Linked DNA regions of Homo sapiens: all the other regions are linked to region 3. The links are contacts of gene promoters, found by promoter capture Hi-C in human tissues and cell types (Jung and others, 2019). All regions are on one chromosome and are shown on one strand. The core of a region is centred on a gene start or on the middle of the fragment in contact, and the rest is flanking DNA. Distances in the headings are between cores, read along the strand shown. Region 1 has its middle 180 kb from the start of SYT1. Region 2 overlaps SYT1 (synaptotagmin 1). Region 3 holds the start of SYT1 (synaptotagmin 1). Region 4 overlaps SYT1 (synaptotagmin 1). Region 5 overlaps SYT1 (synaptotagmin 1). Region 6 has its middle 160 kb from the start of SYT1.

Region 1 (4,554 bases), core at 298-2,797, 180 kb before region 3:
GGAAGGGAGGAGGGCACTCTCTGGAGTCTCTTTTATAAGGGCATGAGAAAAAGAAAAGTAGAGAAAACAGCTCAGAGCAACCTGGGCTATGCGAGATATGCAGGGTGCAGATTCACATGAGTATGGGACTTCAGACTTCAGTCAACTTGCCCCTGCCCCCGCCATGGCCCCATTATCTTCATGTTGCTAGAATTTATAATACAGTGAACAATGTATAGTCAATCAATAGCTTATGTTATTTTAATATAAATTTTTGGTAAATACCACAGGAACTGCCTCTTTTTTTCCTTCAAAAATTTACTTATAACCACTGCTAATCAGAGCTTATATTCAGGGCAATAGAATCTATGCTTCTGAATTGTTAATTCTCAAGCTTAGCCCAAGTAAACTCTCTACTTACGTTAATTTTTGACTCAGCATCTTCCTTTTAGGTTGACATATCTGATGTAGCTGATAGGACTCAGAGTGACTCCCTCTGACCACCTGGTACTTCTCTCTGTCTTTTTTTTTTTTTTTCAGACAGAGTTTCACTCTTGTCACCCAGGCTGGAGTGCAGTGGCACTGATCTTCAGCTCACTGCAACCCCCGCTTCCCAGGTTCAAGCAAGTCTCCTGCCTCAGCCTCCTGAGTAGCTGGGATTACAGGCATGTGCCACCACACCTGGCTAATTATATATTTTTAGTAGAGACAGGGTTTCACATGCTGGCCAGGTTGGTCTCTAACTCCTTACCTCAGGTGATCTGCCCGCCTTGGCCTCCCAAAGTGCTGGGATTACAGGTGTGAGCCACCGCACCTGGCCTGGTACTTCTCTTGAAAGTGGCACTTGGAACAGCACAAACTCTTCATCCGTAGAAATTTCACTGGGTATTTCAGGTGAGTTCTCCTGAATTCAGACCTCCAAATCTTTGACTGGAGATCTAGACTGTATTTGAGCTGCTTTCAAACCCTCTCTTTTTTTAAAAAAGTGAGAATTTTGGTCTCTTCTTTAGACAGGATTTCAGGTAAAGAGCTCTGCAGAGAACCACCTTTTATTCTGCCTCTGTCTCACAGCAGACGTTTAGGTCAAAGGTTTGGCAAGTAGGCACCGGTGGTTTCATTTTACATAGCAAGCTTTTAAGATTGCAGCTGTTTTCTATTGCTTGAAACTTTGGATTTAGCTTTTCATTTGTGACCAACTCCTCTTAGTTTCTAACTGAAAAGTGTGCCCCCATTTGCTCTTCTGCATGAGTATAATATGAGATACCTTGAGCACTCTGCTACCATCTCGCAGTTAGAGGCAGTCCAAGATACATCACACCTCAACCCTAAATACGTTCCTGGCCTCAATCGCTTTTGAAAAGCTTCCGAATTATGGAAAATCAAACTTCAAAATCTAAACACTTTAAAAAAAATCAGATGAATTCATGTATAACATTATGGGACATCCTTTTGTAAATATCTAGGAAAATGAAGCCACCTAACCCTGAATAGTCATTAGAATCAGTATTCAAAATATAGATTCTTTGAAATGTCTGAAATACTTTATTTGCACACACATTTAGAAAAACTGGTTTTAGAACCAAACTGAATGAGAGACCTAGTTTATATTTGTCCTGCCTAAAATCTGATAAGAGAAAGCTAATTTTCGGCTCTACTTCTAATCTCTTTCTGCTTTTCCTCTTTTGGATCCTGTTTCTGGGAATTTTTTCTTTTGACTAAAACCCCCTTTTAAATGTTTTTTGCCCCTCTGTTTGCTTACTATTGAAACCGCCTTTGCAAAATTATGACTGAGACAGTGAAAGACATCTAACTTAACCGACTTCATCTTGCTTCTAACCTCCAAGCTGTCCTGGTTCATTCCTGGGCATAGGCTGAACTAACTTTGGGAGAAATTTAGTTTATAGTTTGAACAAAGACAGTAACATCCCTTTCCCAAAGCAGACCTCCTTCTTGTCTCAGGACTAGATTGCCTCTGTAGGACTAACATTAGCCACAAGATTAGAAATTATGGTTTAGGAGCCCTGCAGCTGGAGGCTATGTGATTCTGACCATCCCTAAACTGCTACTAAGATCAGTGCTTGAGATATTTTGCAGACTCTGCACTTGATGGATCAGCTGGCACCACCCAAATCAATAAACTGCCTCATCTGATCTTGTGGCCCCCACCCAGGAACTAACTCAGCACAAGAAGACAGCTTTGACTCCCTGTGATTTCATCCCTGGCTAATCAGCACTCCTGGCTCACTGACTTCCCCAACCCACCAAGTTATCCTTAAAAACTCTGCTCCCAGAATGCTCAGGGAGACTGATTTGAGTAATAATAAAACTCTGGTCTCCCACACAGTTGGCTCTGCTTGAATTATTCTTTCCCTATTGCAGTTCCTCTGTCTGGATGAATCGTTTCTCTCTCGGCAATGGGCAAGGTGAACCCCTTGGGCGGTTACACTATCTTGTTGGCATGATTTTTGCTGAAGAATGTTAAACTAAATTGATGTTTTTTGTTTGTCTTTGAGATGGAGTTTTGCTCTTGTTGCCCAGGCTGGAGTGCAATGGTGCGATCTCAGCTCACTGTAACCTCCACCTCCCAGGTTCAAGCAATTCTCCCACCTCAAACTCCCTACTAGTCGGGATTACAGGCATGAGCCACCATACACAGCTAATTTTTGTATTTTTAGTACAAACAGGCATTCACCATGTTGGCCAGGCTGGTCTCAAACTCCTGACCTTAGTTAATCCTCCACCCCCCACTTGGCCTCCCAAAGTGCTGGGATTATAGGTGTGAGCCACCATTCCCAGCCTGTATTGATGCTTTAGAAAGCTTCAAATCTCCCAAAATTAGTTTCTCTAAGATTTGTTCTTCTATTTCCTTCCACTTCTGCTCCTCCTTCCTTTTGCCATAATGATACCACATGAAGAAATTTAGAGGAGACAACTAATGACTTTGAGATCCCTTGAAAAATATAGAAAAAAGCACCACTCACCCTGCCTACTTTGTGGGGTTTTCTGTTTTCCTTGTAAAGTCTGAAGAGTTCTGGGCAGTTTCTTCTGTTTTGAAAAAACTCTGCTCTATTTTGCACTATATTACCTGATCTCCTTGGTTTTGGGTGGTAGCAGGGATTACTTTGTATTGTGAGTGATAACTTGACTTTTTTGTGTGCAATGGCTGACAAGTTACCTGTGAAAGTTGCACTTTTTAAAATGGCTGACAGCAGTTGCAATGAATGGATGTAACTGCAGGGGGGCTACCTACATCTTTGTGCACTTAGATAAGAAAGACACTGCTTAAACATTTAGAGAAATGTCTTCCTCTACTCATTAAAGCACTCCACTCTGATGTCAGTCATCTAATAAAGAAACAAACTAAGTTGAAAAGATCACCTATCCAACTAGATCAGTCTCCAAAACATGACTTTCAGGTATTTAGCTGATTATTTTGAAACTTTTTGTAAAGAAATTCACATCTGTAAAGGAAATCTCCATTTGTAATGGCATTTCCCTGCACCCAAGCCATTAGAAACTTTTTTTTGTCTGTATTTTTTTTTTTTTTTTGAGATAGGGTCTTGCTATGTTGCCCAGCCTGGTCTTGAACTCCTGGGCTCAAGCAATCCTCCCACCTTGGCCTCTCAAAGTGCTGGGATTACAGGCATCAACCATCATGCATAGCAAGCCGTTAGAAACTTACAATGGGAAAGGCATTGGCTTTAAATTTACATACCAAACCTTACCTCAGTTTAAGCTACTTTTCCTCACAATCTTGTCTTGGCTGGTTATTTCTGTTTCCACAAACAATGGTGTTTAGATCTAAGTTCTATGCCTTTGGAATGCTAATTTTCACCTGAGTCACATCTTTGAAAATGAAAATTTAGGGTTGCCTAGCTAACAATTTTTTAGAGTAATGGCACAGGTAAACAATAAATTGATAATCTAAAGAAGGAAAGAAAATTATTTGAAAATTGACAAATGAAGAATCTTATATAGCTACAAGATTTGCTTCTGTCTGTGTTCCTATGTCTGTATGTTTATATTGGTCATGTATGTAATATTTCACTACCAAAATATATGAAAGAACTCTAATTAATCGGCTTTAAGAAAAAGTGCTTGAATCAAGTATTTTATCAGAAAAATAGGAACTGATTCAAATGTCTTTTAGTTCACATGACTGGTAAGTATTTGGTAAATAAAACTAGTTTGTTGGTTTAAGGAAAGCAGCCATCTCTTCTACCAGCAAAAATACCCATGTATTTTAACTTGAGGGTTTTACAGGCTGTAGAAACGATGAACAAATAAATAACTTGAGTTGATAGCTAGCTTTTTAAAATAAGCTACTCAAGCATAATTATTAAGAATGAATAAATTGGCTAGGCATGGTAGCTCATGCCTGTAATCCCAGCACTTTGGGAGGCTGAGGTGGGCAGATCACCTGAGGTCAGGAGTTCGAGACCAGCCTGGCCAACATGGCAAAACCCCGTCTCTACTAAAAGTACAAAAATTAGCCAGGCATGATGGCAGGTGCCTGTAATCCCAGCTACTCAGGAGGCTGAGGCAGGAGAATCACTTTAACCTGGGAGGCGGAGG
Region 2 (4,754 bases), core at 948-3,447, 150 kb after region 3:
GAGACCATGACAAGATGAAAATTGGATAGAAACAAATTGAATGATTTTTTTTCCAAGTTGAAGTTCAAGATTAGAGTAAAGAGGTGTCTCCAGCTTCTCTCAGAAAATAAAAGGTGGGGAATGTCTCACATGTATCTATCACATGCCCTTTTCTCACTTTGGTTGCCTACTATGGAATCCTCCACTTCATTCTGAACAAATTCTCCTCTCAAAATGTTTCCTTATGTGTTCACAGCAGGGACCAAGCTGTTTGTAGTAGTATTTCCTACTGCCTCCCTTGATGAAGACCGCACCTCTTTATATGAAAGTGGGGAGAGGAGGTATCTATATTTTATCCCCTCACTTATTAAATAAAGCCCACTACACTATTCCCTACTATATTTTTTAAATTAAACCTGGATTCCTGATTTAAAATTTCAATTCCTCCTATAATGCCTCCAAAACACCCAGATCTTCTGATCTTTTGATTCTCACTGATTATGCCTTTGTTCCTTCACTACAGACTCATAAAGTCCTGTCCTGCTATCAGTTTTCAAGTCATCCCTATGGAAGTTCAAAATTTTTTCTAGAGGTCATCCTAATCATTTCACCTTTCTATCTGTATTTTCATTATTCATTTTATGAAGACAATTTTCTTCTAAAGCTAGATCCTCTAATTGTACCCTTCATTTTATATTTACCTAATTCCTGAGCAATCTTGCTCCCATAAGAATGTTGTCGTTTTCCAAACCTATTTTATTTCCCCTCAAAGGGAAGGAAGGACAGAGGTGTCTTGGTCTAGAATTGTACCTGCAGAGATGGTGAGAAATAGCCAGATTTAGGTCATTATGCCAATCATTGTTGAGAAGTTCTTACAGAATTTGCGTTCTATTTCTTAAAAGAAATAATGGCTAAAAGGTTGCATTAGAATATAATATGAAACTTTACTCGAAATAATATAATGTCATTAGTGAAGAGGAAGTTAAGGAAGAGACCACAGTCTTCAAGTAATGGAAACATTTATTTAACATTTACTGCATATTTTTTCATGCAATAAGTATTTATTAATTGCTAGGTACTCTGCTAGATATTAAAGATTCTCTTGAGCATACAATAAACAATATCTCCTTAAGTTTACATACCAGCTTAGAAGAAGGATAATTAATCAGTTTATTACAAGGAAGTGTGATGAGTGACCAGATTGGGAAATTACAGAGAAATATGCAAATTTATAGTAGGGCATTCCATCTAGTCAAGAAGGAAATAACATTTCATCAGAGACCCTAAGAATAAATAAGAGTTAATCCTATCATAATATTAAGGAGAGAAAGTTGAAAAAAACTGTCCCTGACCTCTAAGAACTTACAACACAGGAATCTATATGCTTTCTGAAAGATCTTGCTAGAAATAGTTCAAATAAACTAGGGAAGAATTTTTAAAACAATAGCTGCCAATTTTGCTCTTAACATTTTCCAGAGATTTGTAAAAAAAAAAAAAAAAAAAACACCTGTGACCAATCACCATTTTAAACCTCCTGAATTAAAATTTCTGGGAGTAGATCCTGGGAATCTGCATTTTATAAGCTCCCTGGGTGTTTCATATATATATGAATAATTAGGAAACTTTGCCTAAAATATAAACATAGGTTTTCTTAAGAACCATCTGTGGGTGTTTTAGGCCTGGCATGGTGGCTCACGCCTGTAATCCCAGCACTTTGCGGGGCTGAGGCGGGTGAATCACCTTAGGTCAGGAGTTCAAGACCAGCCTGGCCAACATGGTGAAACCCCAACTATACTAAAAATACAAAAATTGGATGGGCATGGTGGTGTGCACCTGTAGTCCCAGCTACTCGGGAGGCTGAGGCAGGAGAATTGCTTGAATCCAGGAGGCGGGAGCAGTAGTGAGCCGAGATCAGCCCACTGCACTCCAGCCTGGGTGACAGAATGAGATTCTGTCTCAAAAAAAAAAAAAAAAAAGGGAGAGAATCATCTGTGGTGTATTATATCTGCATACTCTCAGGCTGTACCTGAGAACCTGGAATTTGTAGCGGTAAGAGGTCCAGACTCTATTTTTGGGAATCAGCACAGTCAGTGCTGGTTGAGGAGTAGACAGACCACACATGGTAACTGAGAACTCTGAAGTTTCACCACCATATTATCTATTACAGAAGACAACTGTGGACTAGACACTGATTTAAGTTTTAGAGGCAGATTGGATCCAATCACCTGGATGATATCTTACTTTTTGACCATACATAGCACAAACCATCTCTTACTCAAGCATAATTGAGCAGGTACTATTCTGGTATACAAAAGGCAAACACTTCTTTGTTCACAAAAATGTAAGTATATGTAGAGATTTCAATAAGTAAGGAGAGAATCACTTTTCCAATTCTATTATTTGTTATTGTGGTGCTTCTGGGATCTATGTGGTCACGTCACCATTATATAGCTCTTCCTTTCAAAAAGAGCTGAAGGGAAAATTTATTATAATATTTCCTGGTTCCTTGTGAAGTGTGTAGGCAAAAACAGCCAGCTGTCTACAAACAAGTGTTCAATGCTTCTGAAAACAGGAGAGTGCACCCTGTCGCTGCTCCCTGTGCCTCTTTCCGGACTGCCACTGCTTTGTAGTCAGAATGGCATTTTCCTTCTGTGGTTTCTCATTATGCTTTATGATGAGGTAATGTCCTTAATGTGGCTTGCTGTGCTTTCTGGGACGTACCCCAGCCCACCTCCAGATGCATCCACCCTCTTTCTTTGCTTCATTAACTGTGCCATGCTCCTTTCTACTACAAGGCCCCTCCTCCCATGCAGTCCCTTCTACCTGGAGGTCTGTGCCACCTCTGCTTGCTTCCACACCAGCCTAGCTAACACTCGTCTTTCACATGTGAGCTCAGGAGTCACTTACCAAAGAAGCCTACCTTGATTCCCCATCAAGGTCAGTTATTAAACACTATTTCTATCTTGTAGAGTGCACTTCTCTGTTTGTTTTTGTATTCTCTTTCATGAGTTTATTTGCTTAATATCACCTTAACTAGACTGAATGCAGGGATTGTGTGTTGGTGTGTGTGTGTGTGTTTACCATATTGCCTAAGCATAGTAGGTATTTCATAAGTATTTGTTGAAGAAGTGAATGAGGGTTTAAAACACTTTGAGAGCATCAGGTCTATGATTTCAGTTCACTGAGTGGGTTCATCAAATAATTGTTCAATATTTGCTATGTACTGAGTCCAGTAATGGGCACCAGGAACTCCAAGAGGGATTAACTGTTTATAAACTGTAACTACAACTTGCACACTGAATTTTAGCCAACTCTCTTACAAGTAGATGCTGTTGGAGCACCCATTTGTATAAGCGGTAGCCCTTTCTCACTAACTCATCTCCCCATCTTCTCTGCAAGCATCTGAAGCATATTTCACTATATTTCCTGCGTTTTTTCCTCTATAACACCTAGGAGGTCTTAATAAAAATATCCAATCCAGTCCAGTTATAGAAAACAAAGCAAAAACATCAGATAGGTTCTTCATTTACTATATAAAGCCACTTTTATTCTAGATAGTTATAGAATGTAAAGGCTAAGAGAAAACATTAGAAGGGTAAGCTTATGAAGGTTTTCTTCATGTAAGACCAAGATTCTATCATTATGTCCATTTTGTTAGAAAATAAGCCTTCAGGCCGGACGCCGTGGCTCACGCCTGTAATCCCAGCACTTTAGGAGGCCAAGGCGGGCAGATAATGAGATCAAGAGATTGAGACCCTCCTGGCCAACATGGTGAAACCCCGTCTCTATTAAAAATACAAAAATTAGCTGGGCATGGTGGTGGGCGCCTGTAGTCCCAGTACTCGGGATCATGAGGCAGGAGAATCGCTTGAACCCAGGAGGCAAGGGTTGCAGTGAGCTGAGATTGTGCCACTGCACTCCAGCCTGGCAACAGAGTGAGACTCTCTCCAAAAAAAAAAAAAAAAGAAAAAAAAAAAAAAGAAAGAAAAAGGAAAAGAAAATAAGCCTTGGGTATTTTTGACAACTTCTAATGAAAAACCAGTTCAAATATTTTCATCAGTAACAAGTCTCATAGTTAGTACAATTTATTTTTTCTGAAATTTAACCTGAAACCTATGTTCAGATATGATTCCCAGTCTTTTCAAATACTTTATACTATTTAGAATAATGTTTAGAATTCTTCCCTTTAACCATTCCATATCATGCCTATTTTAGTGCAAATATTTCTTCTCTTTGAAAATGCATTCTCAAAAGAAGACATTTATGCAGCCAAAATCACATGAAAAAATGCTCACCATCACTGGCCATCAGAGAAATGCAAATCAAAACCACAATGAGATACCATCTCACACCAGTTAGAATGGCAATCATTAAAAAGTCAGGAAACAACAGGTGCTGGAGAGGATGTGGAGAAATAGGAACACTTTTACACTGTTGGTGGGACTGTATACTAGTTCAACCATGTGGAAGTCAGTGTGGCGATTCCTCAGGGATCTAGAACTAGAAATACCATTTGACCCAGCCATCCTATTACTGGGTATATACCCAAAGGACTATAAATCATGCTGCTATAAAGACACATGCACACGTATGTTTATTGCGGCACTATTCACAATAGCAAAGACTTGGAACCAACCCAAATATCCAACAATGATAGACTGGATTAAGAAAATGTGGCACATATACACCATGGAATACTATGCAGCCATAAAAAATGATGAGTTCATGTCCTTTGTAGGGACATGGATGAAATTGGAAATCATCATTCTCAGTAA
Region 3 (5,045 bases), core at 1-2,500:
GATAATGGACGGGCCCCTCTCCCAGCTGGGCTCCGCTCCCGCCCCTAGCCTGGCGCGCGGTCCCTTCCCCCACCCGCTGAGCCTTCCTGTTCGGTATTTCGGTATTACCAAGCTATAAATTGCCTGAGAGCTTAGAGACAATCAGGTCACCACCGCCCTCACAAGAGAAAAGCTTCTTACTTCCGAGCAGAACGGTTCAGCTGGGAAGAGAGGAAGCAGGGAGAGAATCTATGCTTTAGTCGTCACTGCTCTGGCAAGGGGTCGAGAGAGATGGGGGAGGGAGGTGGCAAAAAATAAAAATGAAAAAATAAAAAAGCATCTCCAACAATGTTGCACTTGACCCAAGTGTACAAACTTATTGGTCGCTGCAATGGAAACTCCCAGTGCACTCTCCACGGCCTGGCAGCCGCCGCTGATGGGTGGAGTCGCGCTCCCGGCCCCACCTATGGGACGGAGCTGCTTCTCCCGCATCTCGGCTCCACCGCACCCTTCGCGGGAAGTCCCCAGGCTTCCAGCAAAGCTCAGCTTATCCCGCCCCCGCTTCCAACCCGGAACCCCAGAAGAACAGCATGATGAGCCTCCGGCAGCCAGGTGGGCCACCTCCCCGCGGCTCAGTTTGAGGACACTTGTGCGGAACCCTTTCACATCCCCACCCTACCCAGCTTTCACAACTCCGCCGGGTTAAATGGCCAAAGACAAACTTCTACCTCTCCTGTCCCCGGTCCCAGCTTTTCAAAAACCCACAGCTGGCGAACCCACACACATCGAAACTCCTAGGTCGCTGTTGCAGTCTGGGCATGCTCAGTATCAGGGTAGGTTTTGATTGAGAGTAAAAAAAAAAAAAAAAAAGCTTTGTATTATGCTCTCTTTCTCCTGTGCATACTGCTTGCTGAACAGCTTGTGGGGCATTCCTGAGTCTACCTAGAGGTTTTATCAGACGCCCTTGATTGTGTCTCCTTGGGATCTGTTCCCCTCTTACTTCACCCCCTCCCCCAACCCGCCTCCACCCCGCTTCCCAGGTCCCTGTCCGCTGTGGGGATGGAGAGACACTAACAGAACTGGGATGGGCGATGTTGGCTGAACGGATCCACCTATTATTAGTGCGCGGGGATTGGCTCCTTGGCGCAGCGTACCCGAGGTGGAGCCAATCAGGATGCTGGGGCTCGGAGATGATGGGCGGCCGCCTCCTCACTGGAGGGATTCCTGGAGAAGCTGCAGTGTGGGGATGCTCTAGACCGAGTACTGCCCCCAGTGTCTTTCCACCTCCTCCTGCAGCAGCGGCAGCGGCAGCAGCAGTTAGCAGCGGCAACTTGAGGCTGCACCCCGGGCAAGTCCCCAGGGTGGTGCTCAGCCGAGAGGGGGGCTTGGCGCCCCGAAGGGGTGTGTGTAGGGTGGGGGCGACCACGTGGGACCAGCTGGTGGCCCTGGAAAACCTCCCACACACCCACACCCACACACCCCTTTTGTGTTGCAGGCTGCCCCTCCAAGAGCGGAGGCAGCGAGAGTACGCGTGTGCCTCGCGCCGGTCCACGCGGGGAGAGCACTGGGGACCGAGACCCGGCACCACCTCCCGGTCCGCCCTCCAGGTAAGGAAGCGGGACTGGCGGCGCGGCCACCTCGGCGGTGCCTATCTGCTCGAATCCATCCCAAAGATTTTCTTCTCGATACACTTGGGTTTTAGTGGTGGGAGTCTGAGACCTAGGGAGGGATCCCCGGGTGGCCTATTGTGAGAAATATGAGACTACATGTGCATCTCCTGGAAAAGCACTTTGCACAGCGCCCGTGATTTAGAGCCTGGAGTTGATGTTGGGCATCCCCCATCTTCTTGCTTCCTCTTTCCTTCTCTTGTTCTCTCTCCTCCGTCCCCCACCCCCAATCTCAATCTTTTCTCTCTTTCTCTCCCACACCTCCCCTCTCGCCCTCCTCCCACCCTAAGCACGCACAGCGTTTCTTTCTCCTCCTGGAGAGGATTGCCTTTCTTAGAGGAAAGAGGGGGAGTGAAGAAAGGAGAAAGATTTCTTTCTGTTGGGGAGAGGGATATGGGGGGGGGGGGGAACGTAAACAAGATAGAATACAAGCTCTGCGAAAATCAGAGCACATAAAGCAATTAAACTGAATAAGGGGAGTAGACAACCAGTCCAGCTTGGGCTGTCAGAGAGAGGAAGCGTCAAGTTTGACTTGATTTCCTCCTTGCAAGAGTCTATGTCTCTCACTTGATTCGTTCAAATGGAACAAAAATAAACCGACAATCCAACCCACTTTCAACTGCTTAATTGCTTTTGCTTTTGAGTGCCAACCATCTGACTTTTCCTGTTTCCATCTGTCCTGTGGGGCTAACAATTTGGTATTGCACATCAGTGTTAATATCTGAACTTTGAAAGCTTTCTTGAGTAACAAAAAAAAAAAAACAATTAAAATAGATTATTACTTTCCTGAGGTTTCTTGGTATGGCCTGTTGTTGGGGGATCAAAAAATGTAAAGTTTCAAAACATTTGCAAGGGACAACAATTTTATAGGGAGGCTTGGATTTCTACTTTGAGAAAGCTAATCTTCTAGTTAGCTTTGTGTACATGTTGATATTCACTTTCTCCAGTATTAACCCTTTCGTGAAATAAAGCAACTGTTTAACTTTTGTATGGAAGCTACATTTGTGTAGAATTTTCACTTTATTCTACCTTTGTACTATTTGCATTTTATTGTCTGGATACCAAACTTATGCCTGGCTTTATTTTCTTTTAATAGGACAATATTTAATGGATGTAAACATGATGTTTATACAATTTCAGCACTCCCTTTAGAAGGCACATGGAGGCTCAGTTGGACAAGAATCCTCCTGTACTGGAACTAAGTTTAGAAAGTAATGCTAGAAAGATACCCTAAATTTTAAAAATCCTGAAGGGGAAAACATTTTTGTAACGTCTTGTTAAAAGAAAGAAAAATATATCAAAACACCAACATGCCCCTGGCTGCCTGCATAATAGGTCAAGTAAATGGTACTTGTTGGACAGAGCCTTTACAGCAGCTTCAGCAGTCTCTAATTCCATCATTGGGGATATAAGCTTTCTTTTCTTATTATTCTTCAGGGACAGCTAAGCGATAGTACTGTCAGATGGAAGGAGGTATAGAGAAATGCCTCGTTTGATGTAATAGGAAAGCATTCCAAGTGGGTCTTACCTGAACACAGAGAAATCCACAGATGTTAGTATACAAAACACTTCTTTTTATTTATCAGGGGAAATGCAGAGTCTTACTTTTTTTTGTCTAGAACTCCACTTGATATAAGAAAAGAGAATCTTCTATCTTAACTGTGTCTGACCTTCCACACTAATTTTGTATCTCAGAGAGTATTTTTTCACTACGTACGTTTAATATATAAGTTTACACACCAACTTAGAGAAGAGCTGAATTCATTTGCCATCAGTGTAATGTGTACTATTTTCCAAACCATTTTGCATTTGAGGCAATGATCTCTCCCTAAATAGAATTACCAAGTCACGAAAAACGATTTTCTTTCTAGGGCTTTGACATTTAAATGAAAAAAAAAAAAAAATAGTGTCTCTGTTGAAAGCTAACTCTGGTTTTTAGAGGTGCCACCTTTTGGTTACAAGGACAAAGGGACAATCACTTAATTACCTCACATGTATGTACAACTGAATTAACAAGTTTAGACATGAAAAGATGTACAAAAAGGAAGCCAGCTGCCTTCATGTGAGAAAATTAAGATTTTGTTTTCTCATTTCTCCACTGTCTTAGGAATATGTGAAAATTTAGGCTTGGTTTGTGACATTTATTTTCATGACTCTTTACAAATGTTAATTATAGAAATAACATCTAAAAATATGGATATGAGTAGTTTTTCAAATACTTCTAAAAAATTCAATATCTGTGTATTGGAAATCAGAACTAATTCCAATATATAGTGAGTGGATTGGGGAGAGACCTTACATGATATATTATAGGAAATTCTTACTTTGTTATCCCACAAAATAGTCTAATGTCACAATTTCATACAATCTTTGTTTTTTCTCCCTTTGACAGGATATTTTAGTAAATCTCATTAATGTTTCAGAGTAAATATGATAATTATGCCTCGAGGTATTTTTGTCAGAATTGAAGACTGCTAATATATAGGGAAAATCCTAAAATACTAATTTCACAAAAATACCACATGATTGAGAGTTGTTGCTGAGTAGTTTTGAACTTCATTTCATAATGGAGAATATTAGTTATTTCATCTGGTCAAATTATCAGATAGTTCTAATCAACAAATATGAAAATGAATAACATTGTATTTATACGATTTGCATATTAGACTGAAATTGAAACTAAAAAATAGTATTAATTATATGCTTGTATTAATTATATGCAAGATGAGCTGGAAGATTAATAAAATAAAATGTAGAATATGTTAGAAATCTGAAAGTTAATTTGAACTTCCTGTTAGCCTAATAACACCATTAACATAATATCAGTTCATCACTTTTGATGTCAGTATATTAAGTTGATTTTGAGAAAATTCCCAAAACAGTTAGAGCCATCTAATCTTAAAGAACACACACTTAATGCAGACAATTATACGAGCCTGAAATATAGTTCTTATGATTTCCAGTTTGTGCAACAACCAAGAAGAGCTATCACTAATTCCAAATTGAAACATAATATTTATTTTCCTAATGGTAATAATTAAGTAATTTGGGGGGAACAAGAAATAAAAACAGTTTGATTATATAATGGAACAAATCTTTGTCTAATATTACCAAAAACCCATACCAAAGTTAGACTTTCTGCCATTGTGTAATGTAGGTATGCGTCTTGCATGCATTCTGCAGAAAATATAATATTTTTAAAAAGTAAATATCTGATGTAGTTGTGATATTTTAAAATTCTTAAATAATTTATTTATCATAAATATATCTGTACCAAAAGTTCAATACATGACGTGGCTGATTTTAGCTGAAATTTTTTCACTGAAATTGACCAAAGCCATTTAAAAAGAGACAAAGTATATGGCAATATACATAATAATTTCAGCTAGAATTTAAGGA
Region 4 (5,127 bases), core at 1,912-4,411, 190 kb after region 3:
GATGTACCCCTGTTGTTGAGTGATTCATAACTGTATATAGAAGTCTAGATGGAATAAAGAGGAAGGGAAAGTGTGAGGGAAGAAAGAAAAGGAGAAAAGTCTGGTTGGAAATCTTTAACACAAGATGAAATTTCGATTTGATAGAGTAGGATGCAGGCTTGCTTTGGGAGGAGTCCATCAGGAGCCCTCTCCTTGAAGGCCTCTTCCTTCTTAAAGCAAACACAGAAATTAGACAATCTCAATAGCATGACTCACTTCCAGAAAGGTGGAGAGTAAAGCTTGAGACATTTTGACAGTCTTCGTGGCCCTAGAAGTAGGCTGAATCAGTATGCATCACGATGTGAAGGGTAGCAAAAATGCTTTCTATCTTATCATGAAATTATTTTCTTTGTAATAACAAAGGGGACCACTTCCTCCAGAGAAAATAGACCTAACCAAACTCTAGACTGAACAGATGTCCAGAAATAAATTACATCCCACACATTGTTATTACATGCACCATTTTAAAGTTAAGGGCAGTATGATGCCATTACATGGCAACTCTCATTTTAAAAAATAATAAAATTTTGTATGTGATGTCTGAAATTGAAATCACAGCATTATTCTTTTACCAAAGAAATCTCAGTTGACAAAGTTGCTTATTTTGCTGCATTTTTCCCTCATGATACAGAATACTGTTTCTCCTCATTTTAAAACCTCAATTAATTATCTTCAAATGAAAATTTTCATATTCACCATTTTAAGTGGTTTTGTTGTTTGAGTCATTCTTTTGCAAACACCATAAAAATCCCTTTACAGTCTGACATGGGCTATCAATCCTAACACCACTTCTCCTTTCAATGTAAAATCTTGTTATGCCTCTAAAGATGAGTATATCCCAGTCTTAGTAATAACTATTCCTGTTTCAGCAGAAAGTAATTCATAATAAGTATCTTAGCATTTTCCTCCTTTCCTTGGAATTGAATCATTACAAATACTGACAATTTTATTTCTTTTCTATTCTGAAAGATGAAAAATCTGGTTCAGCATATGCTCCATTGTACATTTGAGCAATCTATATCCTCTGTTCTTATGGTTAATATGAATTGCTTAATCCTGTGATTGTTTTTGTTTTCCATTTTCAAAGGAATCCTGGCAAAGCCTATGTTCATGAATTTGTACAAAATGTTTCAGACTAAGGAAAATGTCTCTAAACAAAAGCTCAAAATACATTGGTTTCTAACTCATATGACCCCCCCCAAATGATATTATACAATTTTTCAATAGTCTGAAATATATTATAAGAAATAATTCTTAGCAGTAGTTTTGCAAGTTGCTCAGGATTTTTGCTTATCCATTTTATATTTGCATGTGGCATTGACACAATTTGCTATAACATCTCCTAGGAAGTAATATATTTTTTTTAGGCATTTACTATTTGAGCTGTGAAGGTTAGTCTTAGATGTTCTTTCTCTTTTGTACTTTAAAATTTTTTTTCTAATTTTGCACAAGGTAAAAATGTTTTTAATACCCTCTATGTCTTAGACTCACCATGCAGGGGTGTCCAAGGGAGAGAGTACAGTCATGGGTTCTTAGTTTCTGTTTCTGGTTGGGCCAGTAAAACCCCTTCCTCATCCCTCCTTCCTGCTTACAATTAGACACAGAAACCAAAAATTATGGCTTCAGGCTGCTAAAAGCCTGAAACAAAACAAAATAAAAACAACAACAACAAAATAAGGCAGGTTGGACAAGCTCATGAGCATTACATATGTCACAACCTTTATAATAAATACCATTTTATTACAGAATGCAACAAAATAATTATTTGAATTATGCCTAGTAACATAATTCCAGAAAGAAATGGGTTTGGACAATTGTATATTTATGGATATATCCATTGTTCCCATTTTAAGAAGTGAACAATTATTAGTGTGTTTTTTTGAAAGGCAAAGCCAGATTTGTCATTAAATGAGACAGCTAAAAGAATGGAAGCAATACAAGCAGTCCCCAACTTATGAATGAGTTATATAACAAAATTCCTTTTAAGATGTTTTCTTTCCATTTTATAAGATGGATATTTATCGACAGTGGCCACACAAAAAAACCTGTGAAAACCCACAGCTTATGCTAAATGACAATATTTTTAGCATTGGTTATGGTGACTGTGTGAGTGAGAGGGACACAAGGAAAAACATGTTTCTCCATTTTTCCTGATACTCAGTTGACCCTGCCCAATATGTGAAAAATAACTAAAGCCAGCTTTTCACACAGCCTTCTCTCTCTTTGTCACCTTTGTTTTCTTCCTGAGGTAATGCTGTTTCCCAACTGATATTCTCTAGCTGCCTTTTCTTTAAAGTGGTTTTGGTTTCCAATTTTCTAACCCAACTTATCTCTTGATCAAAATGACTCAGTACAGCTGGTATGGGGAAATGTCTAAGAAAAAATAATTGGGCCAAAGTGTCCACACCAGCCCTGCATCTTGCATCCCCTCTGCTTCTCACTTCCCGACCCCCACACCACAATTGTTAATTTAAATAAACAAATAACTTAAGGAATTTCTGGCAGTGTGGGGTCCTGGAGTGATACATGTATAGATAGTATGGGTGAAGATATTTGGAGACAGGAACTGGGATAGGTGGGAATTCAGCCTTAAATGCAGCATCCCCTGCACTGCTCTTGAAGTGATACATTTTCTTCAATACTATACTTAGGAGCCTATAGTTTCTTTATTTTAATACATACACATTTTCCCAGTGGGTCTTGCAAAGCTTGTGATAGAAGATTTGTTAATGAGGTATGTATTAGTCTGTTCTCACACTGCTAATAAAGACATACCCAAGACTGGGTAATTTATAAAGGAAAGAGGTTTAATTGACTCACAGTTCCACATAGCTGGGGAGGCCTCACAATCATGCCAGAAGGTGAATGGGGGTCAAAGGCACATCTTACATGGCAGCAGGCAAGGGAGCACGTGCAGAGGAACTCCTTTTTATAAAACCATCAGATCTCATGAGACTTATTCACTGTCACGAGAACAGCATGGGAAAGACGCCCCCATAATTCAATGACCTCCCATTGGGTCTCTCCCACAACAGGTGGGAATTATGGGAGCTACAATTCAAGATGAAATTTGGGTGGGGACACAACCAAACCATATCAAGATGTAATAAGCTAGAGATAACTGCTTCATTTTTTCTAAAATGTAAAAGTAAATGTAAAATACATGATTATATAATATTGTTTACCTATATTTTAATTTTAATTCTTTTCAATACCTCAAATGTAAAACCATCCACTCATAAAGTAAATTTTAAGAGTTACCTCTATATGAAAGAAATCGTTATTTGTGTTAGTTATAACATTCCTTATACCTGGCCACCCAAAACAAGAAAATAATCAAGTTTTCAATTTTCAATTTTTTTATCATAACTCTGGATATAAATATAACTAAAATGTTTTCAGTAATAACTCCATGCACAATGATCAAACAAATGCTGTACTTGTTGTGGGCTGGCATCAACAATTATGAAAGTGGCTTGGTAAGGCCAGGCCAGACCTTTGTAACCAGTTATACCAGGCTACTGTTAGACAGCCCCAGATAGCCCATCCCTCTGCCTCAGGGCTTATGGAAACAGTGGATGTTGGTAACTGAACACTTACTCCCTGCTGCATGCTTCCCATGTCATTTCATTCCTGTGAAGTGCATTTTCATATCTATATTTCATAAATGAGGAGACAGATTCTGAAAGGCAAACCAACTTGCTCAAAATAACTAGCTTATATATTTTGAGCCAGATGCAGACTAAAGTCTGTGTAATGCTAAAACCTGTGCTCCTAGACATTATGCAAACTGTTTCATGGGCTTACACTGAAATAATATCTGATGAATTTCTCTTTGCATAAGAGAGTGAGCTCCACAAGTGTGGTAGGCAGAGCATCCTCCTATCTCAGAACCTGACACAGCGAAGGTGCTCAATGCTGGTTGAACCAAAGTGACAACTTGTTTATCCAGCTCTATCATAGCAGTAACTTTACTAAAAGTTCTCTGTTCCCTTACTTTTTTTCAGAAAAGTTATCCACGTCCCCAAACAAAACCTACGTCCCTGTAACAAAAAGCTTTTATTTTCAAGAGCTGTATCTTTAGCCATTTTTTTAATTGTGGTAAAATATATATAACATCAAATTTACCATTTTAACCATTTGAAAGTATACAGCTCAGTGGTATTAAGTACATTCACACTGTTGTTTGATCATCAGCATCAGCCACCCTCAGAATTTTTTCATCTTCCCAAAGTGAAACTCCGTACATATTAAACAGCAACTCCCCATTCCCCCTCCCTGCAGCCCCTGGCCATCACTATTTTACCTTCAGTCTTGATGAAACTGACTATTCTAACTACGTCATATAAGTGGAATTAAACAGTATTTTTCCTTTTGTAACTAGGTTATTTTGTATATTGTCAAGGTTTATCCTTATTGTAGCATGTGTCAAAATTTTCTTCCTAAGGCTGAATAATATTCCATTGTATGTATATATCACATTTTGTTTATCCATTTATCTGATGATTTATTGAGTAATGGAGTTGTCCAAAATGAAATCTTTTTGCCAATTCTTTGATGGAAAGATAAGATGCAAATATAGAAATGCAATGAGTTCATGATTTTTAGAACATCTCTCTTTTTATATCATAAGCCCTAAAATTAATCATGGAAAACTAGTTCAGTTTAGGCAATCAGCAAAAAAAAATAGATGGGCTTAAGATAATTTAGGATTTATGAGTTATAAATATGCCACATTTTAACTACTCAGGCTGGAATTAGCCTGTCTTCATTTGATTATCTGTTTTGATACATTGACTGTTCTTCAGAAGATTCGTGAAGTTAGGGTATTTAAAAATTGCCATTTCTCTAAAATTAAATAGAATAATAGGGAAGGGAGCATTGATTCTAAATAAGAATGCAAATTTATAGCCATCAAGTTTTCTACTACTACCATTTAACTTCTAATCAGCGTATTATGGAATATTCTTGTTCAAGAATTGGTGTCTGAACCTTAAGTCAATAAGAAGGAAATAATCTATACAGTTTTTAGTATTTTCAGCAGTTTTCCTTATGTGCTAACCAATAATTTTTTAGCTGGCATTTATC
Region 5 (4,843 bases), core at 796-3,295, 250 kb after region 3:
CTATAATGAGCAAACAGAGTAGATTCTAATGATGTGAACAAGATAGCATACAACCTTTGAACTTAGATATTTGTTTGATACCTGGTTCTGTCACTAACTAGCTGGATGACCTTGGAATTATCATTTGTCTTCTCTAAATTTCAGGTACCTTGTCATTAAAATGGGAATCATGATGGTTGCCTCATAGGTTAGAGTAGGATTAGTTGAGATAATTAATGGAAAACAAATAATAGGTGGTAAAGAAAACTGGCCCTCAGCCCATGTTTGTAGTTACTATGGCTGATATTTTTGTTGTTCTTAGTACTACTATGTCTATTGGGAGTGCCAGAGGATGATGGCCCAAAAAGCCTAACGAAGACATTTAGGATTGGTATTAGTGTTCAGTAGGAGAAGTGCTTGGGGTTTTACACTGGCAGGGATGTACACAATATTCAATGGAGGAAAAGATAGGTGAAAATTAGGAAGGCAAAGTATTTCCTGCACGTGTTGGTGAGGTGTTGACTTAGGATCCACACAAATCAAGCAAAACACTCTCTTATTTGTGTCTTATTTCATAAGTGAGGAACTCACAGCATAGGGTATTAATATAACATGCCCAACGTGGGTGAACTAAGGATTCAAACTTCAGATTTCAAAGTCCAAAGTGAATGCTTTGTTCACTTTTACCAGGCTTGCCCTCTGCCATTTACAAGAGCAGTCTTTCCCATATTCTTCCCTAAGCAGACAACAATTTAGCCCTTACCTATATTGAATTCTCATAGTATGCTATACTCACTTTATTATAGGATAACTATTTGCTGTATTCTGTCACTTTCTGCTAAATTGTGAGCTCTGGGAGGTCAAGGAGAATTTTCCATTCAGCTACATATCTCAGAGCCTACACCAAAATCCTGAGTTTCACCTCTGAAGGCCTGAGTAGGCAAGTTGCTCCTCTCCCCCTCCAGTGAGGAGGGCAAGTAAGATTCTATCTGGGCTCCTCTGAAATCCACGAGCAGCTCTCCAAATAGAGAAGCACTGATGTAGAGATTGTTGGGTAATAAAATTAATGAGGAAGCCATGGTACAAAATTTTAACACCTTTCTTTTCTGAACTAAAGTTAAATTCTTGAGTGTAGGCGTTCCTTCTTGAAAGTCCTGTTACTGGAGAGATTAATCTACCAGCAATATACAAAGACAGATTAGTGAGAGATGGTGGTCCCAATAAAATCATTTATAGGCTAATTACATTCCTTCTTCACTCAGTTTTACTACAATTAAAATGTAAAAGGTCTGTTTACATTTTTGGTGCCTCAATATGTATTGAGAAATACAATATTGTTAAGCAGGTTTTCACTTTGCATTTCTCTGCTTTAATATAATGAAGTCATTATCCATGCGGACCCACAATGCTCCGTGTTAAATTCGCCAACTGCTGTTCTGTACATTCCCTCAGCCAATTTATTTCAATTTCAGAAGGAGCAACCAACTCCACAGTGGATGACTGCTGACTGCAGTTCCACACCATCACTCTTCAAGAGTAAACTCAAATCAAGGAAAAAGCTTCCACATGTGAGCATGGGTGTGCTCAATCTCCTGTTAGCTGCAGCCACAGTTTCAGGCCTGATAGACCCCAGCTTCTGCCCATGGGGTGCAGAGCTACAGACAGCTCACCTGCCTCTACCACAGGACAGATCACAGGACAGGCTGTGTGTGTGTGTGTGTGTATTACATCATATATATATATATATATATATATATATATATATATATATATATATATATATAAAATAAATAGGTTGCATACAGAAGATTTTCAAACCAATCATTAACACATGTAAGAGCTAGGTCATATTATTTATGGCACTGTTGGTGGTAGCCAGATATCATAAATGCAGTGTCATAAATACTTTTGTATGAAATTATATAATTCTTAGGGTAACACCTTAAAACTCATAATTTGCAGAGTTCCAGGGTTAGAGCCTAAATGTTCAGAAATTTTCCACAAATGGCTATCATCAATTTAAAATAGCTATGTTTACCAAATAAATTTGTACTGAGCTAGACACGTGGATTAGCAAATCTGTAGCACAGAGCCGAGAAAGGAACCCCTTGGTCCTTTTGACCTCCCTGCTCTTGTCTCTTATTTTCTCTGTTTGCTGATTCCATCAAATAATTTGATCTTTTTAGAGCTGATCTAGCCTGTTGTTTGACAAGACCCTTTTTTCTTGAACTACATTATCACTTAACCCATTACCTTGTACTTGTGAACAGCATATTAGAATGAATCATTTTGCCATTTAACATGTGTGGTTAAAAATTATTGGTTATGTATTGAACTCCACTAAAACTATGATTTTAATATAGAAGCTGATGTTTCAAGAAATCAGCAGTCTCTACTGGGTTAGGTTTTTCAAAGTTTGGGTTGTGCATGATCATAAGGTTAAACATTTTTCAAGTGTAACATTAAGAACAAATTTTTCATGTAATTTGGATAGATAAGTCATTTCATTCAAGTCTATATACAATTTTCTTGTGCTAATCTTGATGTAAAAACTAATGGTAGACTGTCTTTTTCTGCTTTTGTTGTTTAAAATGACAGTAATCAAGTTTACCATCTCCACCATTTAATAAAGCAAACAGCACTAGTATAGAAATTAGAAAGGAAATAAAAGGAGCATTTAGTGAATGTCAGTGTTGATCTAGTCAATCATTGTACATGTGTTAGCTCCTCTAGTTTCCACAAAGCCAAAATGAAGTCGTTATTATCTGAGTTTTACAGGTGTTAAGAAATTCACCAAATGTGCCCTGGTAGCTCTTTAAATGTTGTGTTCCACAGGCTCCCTATCCTGAGCACTCTAATTTTCTATGGTACATAATTTACCTGGGTGATCTCATCTCTTTACTTGGTTTCAATTGCTACTTATATACTCTGATTACTCTCAAATCCATTATTTTCCACTGTTACCTTTCTTCTCAACTTCAGATCCAGATATCCAACTGCCTACTAAACATCTCTTCCTTGTCCCTAGACATATAATCCTTCACTTACCCACTTTTGAATTCCCTATTCTCTATGTTTCCTGTGGTTGCTGGTACCATCCAGCCAAAGTAGGAAAGGGCTGGTCGTTTTCTTCTTCTCCATTACCCCTAATATATTCCTACAAATTTTATCTCCTCTATAATGTACAAAAGCAACTAGAGAATCTGTGCCTGTCCTCTCCACTCTCACTAACTTCTTATTGTGTCTATCATCATATCCTGCCTGAACTTTTAACAGGTCCTCCTGCCTTCAGTTTTAGCCTCCTGAACTTTGTCCTCCATACTACTGCTGGAGAAGTCAATAGTAAACAATGCAAGTATGCCATTTTGCTTTTTAAAAACCTTTAATGGTTCTCCATTTCCTGGAGAAAACAGGCCAAGCTTCCTAACAAGTCCCTCCTTGATCTGGTTCACGCTTTCTTCTATAAAACTTTACCGCTCTTCAGTTTTTTGACCCCTGACTTTTTTCTCCAGACACACAACTCCTTACATATTTTCTCACATAAGGTGTTTTTTTTTTAGTCATAACTTTTCTTCAGCTGAGAAGGTCCTTCTTATCTACCCTTTCACTTTTTCTATCTAACTCCTCCTCACCCTTTAAGATTCAGTAAATGTCACTATCACCAGAAATCCTTTTCTGACCCAGTCTTACAAAAATTTGTAAGGGTCTTATATTTTGGAATTTGTTAACTAAATGTCTAGAGAGTTGACGTGACAGCAAGAAAGATATTCTTGTAAATGAACTCAAGAAACCCAGGACTCACTGAAACAAAGAGGAACATTTCAAATCATTTTGGAAGATTCCTTTACTTCCTGAATTAATTCATAAGTTGTTTTTTTTTTCTAAGCTAAATTACTTAAATAGCTTTATTCTCCCCTTGAGTAAGGACAGAAGCTAATTAGGCATTCTCCAAGGCACAGATGGGAAAAATATCATCTCCCTTCCTCTTTTCTTAATCCCCAGTATAGCCAGATGTAGTGAAGGTCCCAGCTGCCTCCTAAAGACCTGCTGTGGAACAACAGGATCCAAGAGACTGAGGGAGCCAATCAAGCTTAACATTTGCATGCGAAGGCCTCCCAGAAGCAAGGAATTCAGCTCCCTGGCTCCCTATCTGTTCTGCTGCTTGTGGGCAATAGCACCACACAAAGAAATGGGCCTGTGCTTAGGAAAAAATATATATATATTTACCCAAGTCAGAATGTTCGTATGCGGCGATGAGAACCCAATCAATTCAAGAGGACAGAGCAATTAATTTATATATCAGTTATAAAAATACAAATTGATATAAACATGGGAACAATAAGACACTGTGGACTACTAGAAGGGGGAGAGAGAAAGGGAGGCATGGATTGAAAAACTACCTATTGGGCACTAGGCTCACTACCTAGGTGTAATATTCCCATGTAACAAATCTGCACCCGTACCTACTGTATCTAAAATCAAAGTTAAAATTTAAAAAAAATATATAAAAATGCAAAATTTGAGAGGGAGAGCTGCTTAAAACAGCTTCAAGGATTTTTATCTTTCTTGAATTTCTATTTAGCAGTCAATGTTTCACACTCTTAGTATATAAGTTATCAAAACTAACACATTTTCAGTAAAACTGGACTTCAATGATGTAACTTATGCAAAGTATCCTCTAAAACATGGTTTTTCCCTTATGTAGATCAGCTGAGTGAACTGTAAGCATCAAAGAAATCTATATGAAAATGTATGTTTATCAAAAAGTTATATGATGTTTCATGTGATTAAATTCTAAGAAGATGTTCCTAAATGTCTCATTCTTACAGCTGCAAAGCAGTGTTGACATCATCCGATCCAAATT
Region 6 (4,576 bases), core at 2,038-4,537, 160 kb before region 3:
TTCTTAGTATCTTTCACCAATTTCCTGATTTACTCCTAAGTAAAATCCTGGCATATTAATTCTGAATAATCTCAGAAAAATTACTTTAAAATTCAAAATGATAAATATTAGAGGTGTAGTTCAAGGCTTAGCTTTTCCAGGCAAGGAAACAACCAGTTATCATTTTAATTCATTTCTCTAAATGAGTTACTAATCTAATTTCCAAGATAAGTTACTCAAAGAATCTCTTTCACATCTTTTTATTTCTGCTTTAAATTTTTAAGTAAAAAGAGTACTGTAAAGTGATCTTTAAGCATAAAATATCTTCAAAGATAAAAAGAATGAAGGAACATTTTATTCTATCATAAGACTCATTCAACAGATATTAAATTCTCTTAGGTGAATTTTCTTTTTAGTCTTTTCAATAAATGACAGCTATTACTTGTATTTTAGAACATGTACACTTCAATACTCAAAGAAATTGCCAGCGATCTCTAAAGGTTCACTTTTTTTTTTTTTTTTTTTTTTTTTTTGAGACGGAGTCTCGCTCTGTCCCCCAGGCTGGAGTGCAGTGGCACGATCTCTGCTCAGCAACCTCCGCCTCCCAGGTTCAGGCAATTCTCCTGCCTCAGCCTCCCAAGTAGCTTGGACTAAAAGCGCAAGCCACCACGCCTGGCTAATTTTTGTACTTCACTGGAGATGGAATTTCAACGTGTTGCCCAGGCTGGTCGCGAACTCCTGAGCTGAGGCAATCCGCCCGCCTCGGCCTCCCAAAGTGCTGGGATTACAGGCGTGAGCCACCGCGCCTCGCCAGGGTCACATTTATCTTTGTGGATTAATCATGTCAGATAACCCTATTGTGAGAAGCTAAAGCCATACCCACTGGATGATTTTATTTCAATAGATTTCATTTTCTTCTTCTGACCGCCACTTTCTTTCTGGTTGCATTAGAGAAAAGCATAAAGAAGTCCCATTGTGAAGAGAAACCAGGAAAAAGCTTTGCTACAAGGCAAGAGCTAATACACTATTCTGTAGGGACTGATATTCATCTATTTTTCAATAAAAGCTAATGGTTCAATAGTCCCAATGCACCCAGCTAATCTAGAAAGAAGTTGATGCTTGGGAACAGGGATTCAATCAAGATTCATGCATAAGTGCTATTACTACATATAAAATATACTTACACCTACTTGATACATGACTAATTTAAGAACATAACCAACTGACTTTAGCCTTGGCAACATTGCATAGACATTTGAAAATGTGATGCTACTGAATATACCAGTTTGGGTAATATAGCAAATGTTTATATCTAATTAGAAAATAAATAAATAAATTTCTGACCTGGAAAGCAGCCGTGCATTCCCAAGGTCCTTTAAAAGATTGAAAATATTTAAGTGATGCCATTTAAAAATAACTCAGTGACTGCTGTTTACTATTCAGTATTCAGATATTCTAATAAAATGAAATAAGCTTCCCTATGAAAGGTATTTTTGCTGAACATTCCCAAGGGTAAGAGCAATTTCCTTTTTAGATGAGTAATGTGTTAGTTAAAGGCACGACTATGCTACGCATATCAAGATCTGTAAGCAGATAGGAATTCATGAGCAGAGAAAGAAAGCAAGTGAGAAATCAGGAGCATAAAATTCTGAGACAATTAAAGTTCTTAAATAGGTAAGAAACAGAATAGTTTCTGCATGATTAACTGCATGACTTGGGGATAGCACTGGGTAATCAGTGCAAAAATAAAAAAGTCTCCTAAAATACCTTCTCTTTACTTAATTATATACTCTTTCTTTAGATGGTTAATTTTAGTTAGCACAGAGAAATGACAATGTTAAATTGCTCACAATTGCATAAAGATATAGACATTTAAAGTGTGATTTTGATTTACCAAATACTCCTAATATAAAAGTCACATGCTATTCTTTCCATCATTTCAGCCACAATAATATCAACTTTCAATTTTATTTGGGATTTTGTTCTGCATCTAAAGGCAAAAAGTTAATTTTTAAAAGGGGTGCAATGTACTCATGATGTGTTAAATGAAACTATGTTCATGTATATTTATGTGGGGTTTATGTAAAGCACATGCATTTAATTGATATTTATTCAGTTGGCATCTTACTAACAAGTGTTTGAGTATTCTCTGGCATTTGAGTATGATTATATATATTTAATTTTTAATGGTCTACTTATGCTGAAAATATGTTAATATTGGTCTAAGCAAGTAGAAAGTGTACCATGGTGAGTTATTTCTTCTTGATATAATAGATATTATATTAAACCCTAAGAGTTGTATTACATATTGAACACTCATTGTGAAAGCTCTCTACTAGGACTTAAATTTGATCATGTGACTCTATAATCTCCTACACCTCTTCTTATTCTAATACTGTATAACTATGTGTTTGTAGTTTTGACTTATAAAGGATAGAAGTAGGCCTAGTATCTTAACCCAAGGAAGTGCTGTGCAAAAGTTTTCAGATTACCAGATTCATCTCTAGATGGCTGTGACCTTTGAGAGATTCAGAAGCATCAGCAACAATTGACAGGTTTTTTTTATTATTTAAGGTTAAAATGCATTGCTCATTGCCTGTAAAATTTAAAGAGTGAACTTTGTATTCTGTAAAAGTTTTGTTCATCTGTAAACCAGAGTGGTCTGCAAAATGGTAGCTATTTGGCTTGGAAGCATATCTTTTTATTTGTGAATCCTAGAATGAAACTAAACAACCTCACAACAGTGGACTAATAATATTTAATGTTTATTGACCACTAAATATATGCCAAGAGTTCTTCCAAATGCTCTAATATATGAACCTATGTAATCCTCACAACAATTATTTGAGACAGGTATTACAATTATTGTTATACCCATTTTACAGATGATACACATGTGAACAATTAACTTGCACAAGGTATAGTAAGTAGCAGAGTGAGAATTCAATGCAGACATTCTGCCTCCAAATTCCACATTTGTAATTAATATACTGTAGTGTTTCTATGTAATAAATGTTCAATTGAACCATGTCATCTATAGTTCCACATCACTGGTTTTGTTTTTTTTTTTTTTAAATCACCAAATTAGATAACATGGAGCATCCTATTGGTCTGTAACAGCTGAGTCCTGCTTGCAAAGGAGGTCATAGGGACCCAAGTTTTCAAGGTCTTTTCCTTCCAGACCTTTACTTATTAATGTATTCATTTAAATATTAGGCAGTGTCTTAATCTGCTTGGGCCACTATTTAAAAAAGGAGCCATAGACTAGGTGGCTTAAACAGCAGATACTTACTTTCTCACAGTTCTGAAGGCAGGGAGTCTGAAATCAAGGAACCAACATGGTCAAGTTTTGGTCCCTCTTCCTGGCTCACAGGTATTGCCTTATCACTGTGTCCTTACGTGGCTGAGAGAGAAATCTGTGTTGTTTCTTCCTCTTCTTATGAGGGTGCTAATCCCATCATGCAGATTCTATTCTTATGAGCTCATTGAAACCTAATGACATCTCCAAAGGTCCACTTTCTAATACCATTACATTGGAGGTTAGAGATTCAAGTCATAAATTTAAACGGTCCCCAACATGGAGCCTGTAACAGCCAGCCACTGTTCTAGGCACTGGGGATGCAGTAGTGAACAAAGGAGACAAAAATGCCTTGCCCACATGGAACTTAGAGTCTCATGGGGAAAATAGTAAGATAAACATGTAAAATAAATAGACTATTTGACGTTAGTAAGTGCTATAGGAGAAAAAAGAGGAAAGGAATGCTAGGAAATATAACGTGAAATTTGGATAGAATGGTCGAGAAAGCCTTTCTGAGAATCTTGGTTGACTCAATCTGAATAGGCTATGCTGGGAGAAGGCAATTGCAAAAGACTTGAGGGGAGTTTAGGGGGTCTGTTCAAGACAACGAAGCAGGGTGGCTCAACTGGTGTGAATTAGACAGAAAGTGTAAGGGATTTGGTTAGAGAAGTAAAAGAAAGGCCCAGACCATGAAGGTCATTACAATTCATAATATGAACCTCAGATTTTATTCTGAGTAAAACAGAAGCTATTAAAGGATTTTGAGCAGAGGAGTGGCATGATTTGGACATTCATTTGAACGGAATAATTCTGGCTGCTCTGCTGAAAAGAAACTGAAGATAGGAACAAGAGCTGAAGCACAGAGACCAGTTAGGAGGCTAACATGTCAAATCATTAAGAGATTAGGCAAATGGGTGCTAATCAAGCCTCATATGAATTGACCAAATGTTTTATTTGCTGCAGAGAGAAAATGTGAATATGATTTTAATGCTAATTTGGGAAGACTTCCAAGAAAGTTGGCATAGTGCACAATGCATTAATCTCTCTCAAACCCTTTGACTGAACAAAAACAACCTTGAATTGGATTTAAACTACATATACAATGAAACTAAACTGTCACAGTAAAGTCCATACTTAACATTCTGAAAGTAGTCTGCTAGAAAATATAAAATGAAGACATAAATGAAGTATTCTGTGATTGCAATAAATATTACTTGTAATACTAAATATGAAAAAGAGTTTAAAAGGTGGATGATAACATTCTGAAGAGCACTACTAAATTCTCTAACCTGCAGATCA

Evidence for each region. The method cuts DNA at HindIII sites, captures the fragments that hold promoters and counts their contacts. A contact is called where the count stands out against the background at its distance.
Region 1: a contact is called between a fragment that was not itself captured here and the fragment with the promoter of SYT1 in region 3, in 3 of the 25 tissues and cell types used here (mesendoderm cells, spleen and thymus).
Region 2: a fragment that was not itself captured here is called in contact with the fragment with the promoter of SYT1 in region 3 in 1 of the 25 tissues and cell types used here (mesenchymal stem cells).
Region 4: a fragment that was not itself captured here is called in contact with the fragment with the promoter of SYT1 in region 3 in 2 of the 25 tissues and cell types used here (dorsolateral prefrontal cortex and hippocampus).
Region 5: a fragment that was not itself captured here is called in contact with the fragment with the promoter of SYT1 in region 3 in 1 of the 25 tissues and cell types used here (dorsolateral prefrontal cortex).
Region 6: a fragment that was not itself captured here is called in contact with the fragment with the promoter of SYT1 in region 3 in 4 of the 25 tissues and cell types used here (IMR-90 fibroblasts, heart left ventricle, lymphoblastoid cells and 1 more).

What each region holds. Positions count from the first base shown.
Region 1 is chr12:78,686,820-78,691,373 of GRCh38, forward strand. No RefSeq gene overlaps it. Among named protein-coding and RNA genes, the nearest start is that of SYT1, 180 kb to the right of the region's middle. The HindIII fragment of the contact is 4,391 bases long and covers 1-3,743 here.
Region 2 is chr12:79,010,195-79,014,948 of GRCh38, forward strand. All of the region lies in intron 2 of SYT1 (synaptotagmin 1), which reads left to right. The region is part of intron 4 of LOC105369863 (a long non-coding RNA gene); the gene reads right to left. Among named protein-coding and RNA genes, the nearest start is that of SYT1, 150 kb to the left of the region's middle. The HindIII fragment of the contact is 4,299 bases long and covers 49-4,347 here.
Region 3 is chr12:78,863,524-78,868,568 of GRCh38, forward strand. SYT1 (synaptotagmin 1) reads left to right here and starts at 1,251. Exons shown (of 11, transcript NM_005639.3): 1 at 1,251-1,586. RefSeq lists a silencer at 35-94. The HindIII fragment of the contact is 3,235 bases long and covers 1-1,615 here.
Region 4 is chr12:79,056,172-79,061,298 of GRCh38, forward strand. The region is part of intron 3 of SYT1 (synaptotagmin 1); the gene reads left to right. All of the region lies in intron 3 of LOC105369863 (a long non-coding RNA gene), which reads right to left. Among named protein-coding and RNA genes, the nearest start is that of SYT1, 190 kb to the left of the region's middle. The HindIII fragment of the contact is 3,298 bases long and covers 1,513-4,810 here.
Region 5 is chr12:79,115,953-79,120,795 of GRCh38, forward strand. The region is part of intron 3 of SYT1 (synaptotagmin 1); the gene reads left to right. Among named protein-coding and RNA genes, the nearest start is that of SYT1, 250 kb to the left of the region's middle. The HindIII fragment of the contact is 3,375 bases long and covers 359-3,733 here.
Region 6 is chr12:78,702,815-78,707,390 of GRCh38, forward strand. No RefSeq gene overlaps it. Among named protein-coding and RNA genes, the nearest start is that of SYT1, 160 kb to the right of the region's middle. The HindIII fragment of the contact is 4,147 bases long and covers 1,215-4,576 here.